Linked DNA regions of Homo sapiens: region 1 is linked to region 2. Evidence: promoter capture Hi-C in 16 types of primary human blood cells and fetal thymus (Javierre and others, 2016). All regions are on one chromosome and are shown on one strand. Each heading gives the region's core, a stretch centred on a gene start or on the middle of the fragment in contact. The rest is flanking DNA. Distances are from core to core; before and after follow the strand shown.

What was found. Contacts are between HindIII fragments. The CHiCAGO score rates a contact against its expected background, and 5 or more counts as called.
Region 1: a contact is called between a fragment that was not itself captured here and the fragment with the promoter of UBE2O in region 2, in 1 of 17 cell types (endothelial precursors). The highest score is 5.2, in endothelial precursors.

What each region holds. Positions count from the first base shown.
Region 1 is chr17:76,643,876-76,647,816 of GRCh38, forward strand. No RefSeq gene overlaps it. Among named protein-coding and RNA genes, the nearest start is that of ST6GALNAC1, 2.1 kb to the left of the region's middle. The HindIII fragment of the contact is 2,395 bases long and covers 54-2,448 here.
Region 2 is chr17:76,451,897-76,455,491 of GRCh38, forward strand. UBE2O (ubiquitin conjugating enzyme E2 O) reads right to left here and starts at 1,256. Exons shown (of 18, transcript NM_022066.4): 1 at 829-1,256. The coding sequence starts at 1,245. It also overlaps a transcript of AANAT not described here. RefSeq lists silencers at 608-807, 928-1,467, 1,262-1,430. The HindIII fragment of the contact is 7,923 bases long and covers 1-2,190 here.

The DNA.
Region 1 (3,941 bases), core at 1-2,500, 190 kb after region 2:
TTCAAACATGTTTACCTTCCTTTTTTGTCTTTGAAGCCAATATCTGAAAGTCAAGCTTTATGAGAAATATAACCACATTATATGCAGTCTCATCTTGGTCAGGTTACTTAACCCATCTGCCGCCATATAAATGGAAAAAAGCAGTTATCTTCCTTTTGGGATTATCATGAAGACACCTTGAGGCCACCATGCACAGGGCTTTGTTTGTGGTAGGCACCCAACACACATGTTCAACACTTTAGCTCAACCTTCTCTGTTTCTCTTCTGAAATCATGACCATTACAACAATGACCAGCACGTATGAGGGCTCACTCTGAGCTGGGCAGTGGGGAGTCTTCACAGGCACTCATGGAACCCTCACAGCCACTCTAGGGGCTGGGTACTGTCATCACCTCCATTTGACAGAGGAGGAAATGGCCTCCAAGAACAAGCTGCCAGCCCAAGAGCACATGGTGAGCCACTGGCTTGGGGTCCAGATCCAACTGACCTAGAGATTGCATTCTTTTTTTAAGAAATAGAGATGGGTCTCAGTATGTTGCCCAGGCTGGTCTCAAACTCCTGGACTTAAGTGATCCTCCCACCTCAGCCTCCCAAAGTGCTGGGATTACAGGCATCGGCCACCATGCCCAGCCATGATTGCATTTTTCTTTCTTTTTTTTTTTTGAGACATTCTCACTCGTTGCCAGCCTGGAGTGCAGTGGCGCAATCTTGGCTCACTGCAACCTCCGCCTCCCGGGCTCAAGTGATTCTCCTGCCTCAGCCTCCTGAGTAGCTGGGACTACAGGCACCCAACACCACACCCGGCTAATTTTTGTATTTTTAGTGGAGACGGGGTTTCACCATGCTGGCCAGGATGGTCTCGATCTTCTGACCTCATGATCCACCTGCCTCGGCCTCCCAAAGTGCTAGGATTACAGGTGTGAGCCACCGTGCCTGGCCGATTGCATTCGTATCCACTGCTTAGTAGCACCTACGAGAAATCATTAACTCTACCTTGATCAAAGCAATGCAAAACAAAACCCACATAATTCTTGGGAAAAAAAAGTACACCTCAGAGGAAAAACATCAAGACCATTTGTAGAAAACTTTAAAAATTCAGAGAAGCAGCCCTCCATAAAGTACTGTGAGTTAGTAATTTTATAAAAATATTGTCCAGGGTGTTGAACTGTGGGAGAGGTTTTGGAGCCTGGGCTCACTGTTCACACCTGGCGGTGGGCATTTCTCCTAACGTACAGTTTTCAGTTCTGTACACAAGGCTCTTGGCCTTCACCCATGGCACGCACCGATAAATGATTAAACCACCTTCCTCAAGGAGGACGAAAAAGGCAGGAACATACGTCTGAGCAGCTGAGGGTAATACAGACGACTGATGGTTTCCTTTATCCCCTACTGTACACTGCAACTCACAGCACTGTTTCAAGTCATGGTGGCAAGGAGAAACATCTCTGTTAGTACTGACTCAACCTCTCTCTTTCTCTCTCACCGTGCCTAACCTACAGATGCTCATATGTTAACTCTATAAACATTTTCTGAATTGATCTGTATCAAGTCATAACTCTTTGTCCTAACTGGCCCCTTATCCTGAGTTCCTTTATGCACTTGACATGTACAATTATATTCCTGTATCCTGGTGCCTGCTTGCAACGCTATGCAAATAAGTGCACAGTGAAAAGGCATGTTCTTACCCACAGTACTAGTGTGACTAAATAGAGTATCTCTTTCATCGTGCCCTGTGTTCTGAAGAAGGCACTGGCTGTCAGTGCTCGCTGCCTTCCGCAGGGCATGGAGATCCAGCTGAGCTCCTGGGTGCAAGCTGAGCTACTGTGGACAATCTGTCCCTCTCGCCACATTAGAGGCAGGTTGAACTTGAAGACCTTGTGGCCAACTGGTGTGGCAGGATAATCCAGAGTCCTAGTTTCCTGGTTCTCAGGTTCCAGCCCACTGCTGCTGTAGCATGTGCCTGGGCAGAATGTGGGATCCAGAGAAGTGTGTGTTTTAGGAGAAATTGACTTTCCAATTATTTTGTTTTTGCTTTTTGAGACAAGGCCTCTTTCTGTCATCCAGGCTGGAGTGCAGTGGTGCAATCATAGTTCACTGAAGCCTTGAATTCCTGAGCTCACAAGATCCTCCTGCGGCAGCCTCCCTCCAAAGTAGCTGGGATTACAGGTGGGTGCCACCACACCTGGCAAATTTTTTTTGTAGAGATGGGGGGGTCTTGCTATGTCGTGCAGTCTGGTCTTGATCTCCTGGTCTCAAGCGACCCCACTTCAGCCTCCCAAAGTGCTGGGAGCACTTCATGTGAGCCGCCACGCCCAGCTGCCAATTATTTTTTAAACATCGTCACAATTTTGTGTTTGGTAAGATCTACCTTTCTCTCCTTTTTATTGTTTTATTTTATTTTATTCTCTTAAGCTCAATGGCAAAAACTTTTTCTCCTTTTTAAACTAAAGCTTTGAGCTTGAGTCTTTGAACTTTAGTATACATCAGCTGATGGGACATGTGAGAACTTACATGCAGATAAGAGTTGTTAAAAGATAATTTTCAGTAAAAGGTAAAATCATTACTCAAATAGATAGAAGACATAAAAATGTGCTAAAGATTTGATTCTACTCATGAGAGGACCAGGCAGATATAATAACCAGTTCAAAAGAGAAGTGCATGAGCACAAAGTAATTTAGATTGTTTTTCATTTGCTTCTTTCAAGATTTTTCTCTATCTTTGGCTTTCAGTATTTTGACTATGATGTGTCTGTGTGGGTCTTCCTGCATTTATTCACTTGGAGTTTCTGGGATCTATGTATTAGTGTTTTTCAACAAATTTCAGAAGTTTTCAGGTATTATTTGTTTGAATATTTTTTTCTCTCTATCTCTGCCTCTTGAGCATTCTTTCCTAGGATGAGTATGTTGGTGTGCTTAACAGTATTCTACATTTCTCTGAGGCTCTGTTCATTTTTACTTATTATTTTTCGTAGTGTTCTTCATCTGTATTAATCTGTCTTCATGTTGGCTGATTCTTCCTTCTGCCAACTCAAATCTACTATTGAGCCCCTCTAGTGAATTTTTCATTTTGATTATTTATTTTTCAACTTCAGAATTTTCATTTACTTAATAATTTTGTTCTATCTTTTTAGTGAACATTCTCTATTTCATGAGTCATTATTATCATGCCTTTCTTTAATCTTCAATTCTTTAAACATGGTTTACATTAAAAACTTTTTTTTTTGGAGACAAGGTCTTGCTCTGTCACTCAGGCTGAAGTGCAGTGGCGTGATGATAGGTCACTGTAACCTTGAACTCCTGGCCTCACGTGATCCTTTCTCCCCAACCTCCCTAGTAGTTAAGACTACAGGCTAATTTATTTAAATATATATATATTTTGTAGAAACAGGTTTTCACTGTGTTGCCCAGGCTGGTCTTGAACTCCTGGCCTTAAGCAATCCTCCTGCCTAGAACTCCTGAAGCATTGAGATTATAGGCGTGAACCACTATGCCTGGTCTACTTCGATTTTTAAAACATATTCATAATAGCTGCTTTGGAGTCTTTTTCCAATGTGTCCAATATTTAGGTCCCTTCAAAAGCACTTTTTATTGCCTGACTTCTTTTCCTGTGTATTTGTCACAGTTTTTTTGCGTGTCATAATTTTTTGTTGAAAACCAGACATTTTAGATAATATATTGTAGCACCTCTAGATGCTGAATTCCCCACTACACTGGGGCTTGTTGGTGGAACTGTTGTTTCCTTGGGCATTTGTTTATTTAATTCTGAACTAATTCTATGAAGCCTATTTCCTGGTTTGTGTGCAGAGTGTATAATTTCTGATGTTTCTGCTGAGTTTCTTTCTTTTCTCCTTTTTTTTTTTTTTTTTTTTTTTGAGACAGAGTCGTGCTCTTTCACCAGGCTGCAGTGCACTGGCGCGATCTCGGCTCACTGTAACCTCTGCC
Region 2 (3,595 bases), core at 6-2,505:
TGTAAAACTGCTATACTCACTAGCATCACCCCAAAAACCATACGGGAGTCAGATGTCTGCTTAACAGCTTCAGGTCAAGAAAAAACCTTCGGGTTTCCAAATTGGTGACTCCCCTCTACCCAGGGTTCTGGATTATTTTTTTCAAGGAGTCCATATGCACTTAGGAGTCATCAATCCCGGTCGCAGCTGTCAGAATCCTCCCCCCCAAGTACTATTCATACCGGGGCTCTGATTGCTAATGATTTTACTCACAAAGTTCCCTGCAGCAATTAAAAGGAGGCAGCAGGGTAAAACAAAAAGAGGCTGGGTGGCTTCACCATAATGCAGCCTGTAAGCTAGTGAACTTCTTGGGTTCGGCTGGGATTTTCACCTCTATCTTTGTTTTGGAATGCCCACAACCCCTCCCTGCACGGACCCGGCACGGCCTTCATTTCTGGATGCACAATGCAGTACCGAGCTCCTTGGGGGTCAGCAAAACGCCGCACTGGTGTAACGCCGAACGCGCCCCAGAACCTGAGTCCCCACGGGAGTCGGTCCACGTCTCTAAATCTCGAGGCCGACACCACAGCATAACATGTCTTAGAAGTCCCCTCAAGTCGGGAAGCCCAGGGCCCGCCCGGTCCCGGGCCAGCAGTGCCTGGCTGGCGTGTGCGCCCAGAGCTGCTGCAATGACTTTGCATGGAGTGTACCCTCCACTGGGGCTGTCCTCCCGCGTCGGCCACTGCAGTGGCACCGCTCCGGGCAGGGCCCTGCACGCCGTCCTTCCCTGGCCTCGGCCCGGCCGCCGACCCCCTGCCGCCCGCGCCGCCCAGCCCCCGCCCGCCGCACCTTGGTCTCCTTCACATGCTGCTTGACGCCCTCCGGGTACCACTGGACGCGCACGTAGCCGCGGCGCAGGGGGCTGGCCCGGCCCTCCTCGTGGCCCGCGCCCCCGGCCTCGGAGCACCCCGAGCTCCCGCGGCCCTCCTCCTCGCCCTCCGAGTCCGAGTCCTCGCCGTGGATGAGGCGCACCAGCCCGAAGTGCACGGAGCCACGGTAACGGCCCGACACCAGGTCGTGAGAAAACAGCAGGCGCTGCGAGCCGGCTTCTGGGCCGGAGTCCGAGGACGGCCCGGAGGCCGAGTCCGAGGCGGGCGCCGGCGCCGGGACGGGGGCTGCGGCTGGGGCCGGGACTGCCTCCGGGGCTGGAGCCGGGGCCTGGGCTGGAGCGGGAGCTGCGGGCGTGGGGGCTGCGGGATCCGCCATAACTGCTCTGCGCGAGTCTCGGGCGGCGGCGGCGACAGCGGCGGCGAACGAGGCGCGGGGAGGCGGGACCAGCGGGCGCCGGGGGCGGGGCCATAGCGCGCTGACGTGTCCCTGCGTGGCGCCGTCGTCAGGGAGCCGGGATGCAGTTGCTAGGAGCCACCGCCTCGTCGCTAGGGGACGCTGAAGATGCCGCGGGGGGCGGGGGCAGGATGGAATCCACTAAGAAGGGGCGAGACCAGTGAGGATTCAACTAAAGGGAGCGAGAAGGGGCGGGGACCCGGGAGGAGGAAGTGGAGTGGCCACCGAGGAAGAGGGGAGTGGTCGGGGTGGGGCACAGGATGGTGGAGAGACTGTCAACAACTTTTAATGAGCTCCCTTGGCGTCCTAGCCTAGCCCCCAGGCACTGGGAGCATTGCAGAAAGAGAAAGATACTGTCCCTGTCCTCTAGGTGTTTCCAGTCTAGTTGGGGAGACAAAACAAATACACATTAAATAGATAACAAACAACTCCAACTTGTAAGGCTATAATAGATACGTGTAGAGCATATGTATAATGCACTGTATTCAGGAATTCCAAGCAGTTCGAACGTCATGACCCCTCAGAAGTTGACCCAGAAGCTGGTGAAGGAGGCCCAGAGAAAGGTAACAAAAGGATCAGTGGTCCCAGTGGTTTGGCTACAAATCCATGCAGATAAATTCAAAGCTCCCTGAAGCCAAGAATGAATGGCAAGAGGTAGTATAGTAAGGTAGCTAAGAGTGGGGACCACGGATTCCAATTTTTGGCACTGCCACTTACTAATCTATAAAAATAGGCACACTGATTAACTTATTTTCATCTTAATTTGCTCATCTGTGAAATAGGGATGATAATAGCAATACTCATCTCATTGGGCAATTGGAGGATTAAGTGAAGTAGAACAGTGCCTGGCATTTAGCTCCTTCGATAAGCTTAACCATTGTTGTACTATTTCCAAACTCCCTGCCTAGACTAAATTCCAGACTGGCAGAACTGTTATGGTCTGCTCCATATTGTCATTTTAAAATATAAAAAGTAGGCCGGGCGCGGCAGCTCACACCTGTCATCCCAGTACTTTGGGAGGCTGAGGTGGGCGGATCACGAGGTCAAGAGATTGAGACCATCCTGGCCAACATGGCGAAACCCCATCTCTACTAAAAATACGGAAAAAAAAAAAAAATAGCTGGGCGTGGTGGCACATGGCTGTAGTCCCAGCTACTCAGGAGGCTGAGGCAGGCAAATCGCTTGAACCTGGGAGGCTGAGGTTGCAGTGAGCCCAGATCGCGCCACTGCACTCCACCCTGGGCAACAGAGCAAGACTCTGTCTCAAAAAAATAAATAAATAAAAATAAATAAAATATAAAAAGTAACTCTAGGGCCAGGCGTGGTGGCTCATGCCTGTAATCCCAGCACTTTGGGAGGCAGAAGCAGATGGATCACCTGATCACCTGAGGTCAGGAGTTCAAGACCGCCCTGGCCAACATGGCGAAATCCCTTCTCTACTAAAAGTACAAAAATTAGCTGGGCGTGGTGGTGTGCACCTGTAGTCCCAGCTACTTGGGAGGCTGAGGCAGGAGAATTGCTTGAATCTGGGAGGCAGAAGTTGCAGTGAGCCGAGATCATGCCACTACACTCCAGCCTTGGCAACAGAGCAGGACTCTGTCTCAAAAAACAAAAAACAAAAAAAAGGCTGGATGTGGTGGCTCTTGCCTGTAATCCCAGCACTTTGGGAGACCGAGGCGGGTGGGAGACCCGAGGTCAGGAGTTCAAGACCAGCCTGGCCAAGATGGTGAAACCCTGTCTCTACTAAAAATACAAAAATTAGCCGGGCGCGGTGGCAGCCGCCTGTAATCCCAGCTACTCGGAAGGCTGAGGCAGGAGAATCACTTGAACCTGGGGAGTGGAGGTTGTAGTGAGCCTAGATCGCGCCGCTGCACTCCAGCCTGGGCGACAGAGTGAGATTCCGTCTCAAAAAAAAGTAACTCTAGGCCGGGCACAGTGGCTCACGCCTGAAATCCCAACACTTTGACTGCGCCTGAAATCCCAACACTTTGGGATGCCAAGGTGGGTGGATCAGTTGAGGTCAGGAGTTCAAAACTAGCCTGGCCAACATGGCAAAACCCCATGTCTACTAAAAATCCAAAATTAGCTGGGCAAGGTGGCAGGCGCCTGTAATTCCAGCTACTTGGGAGGCTGAGACACGAGAACCACTTGAACCTGGGGGTTGGAGGTTGCAGTGAGCCTAGATCACACCACTGCACTCCAGCTTGGGTGACAGAGTGAGACTCTATCTCAAAAGAAAAAAACTAACTCTAATTTAATGTGTCACCTAAGT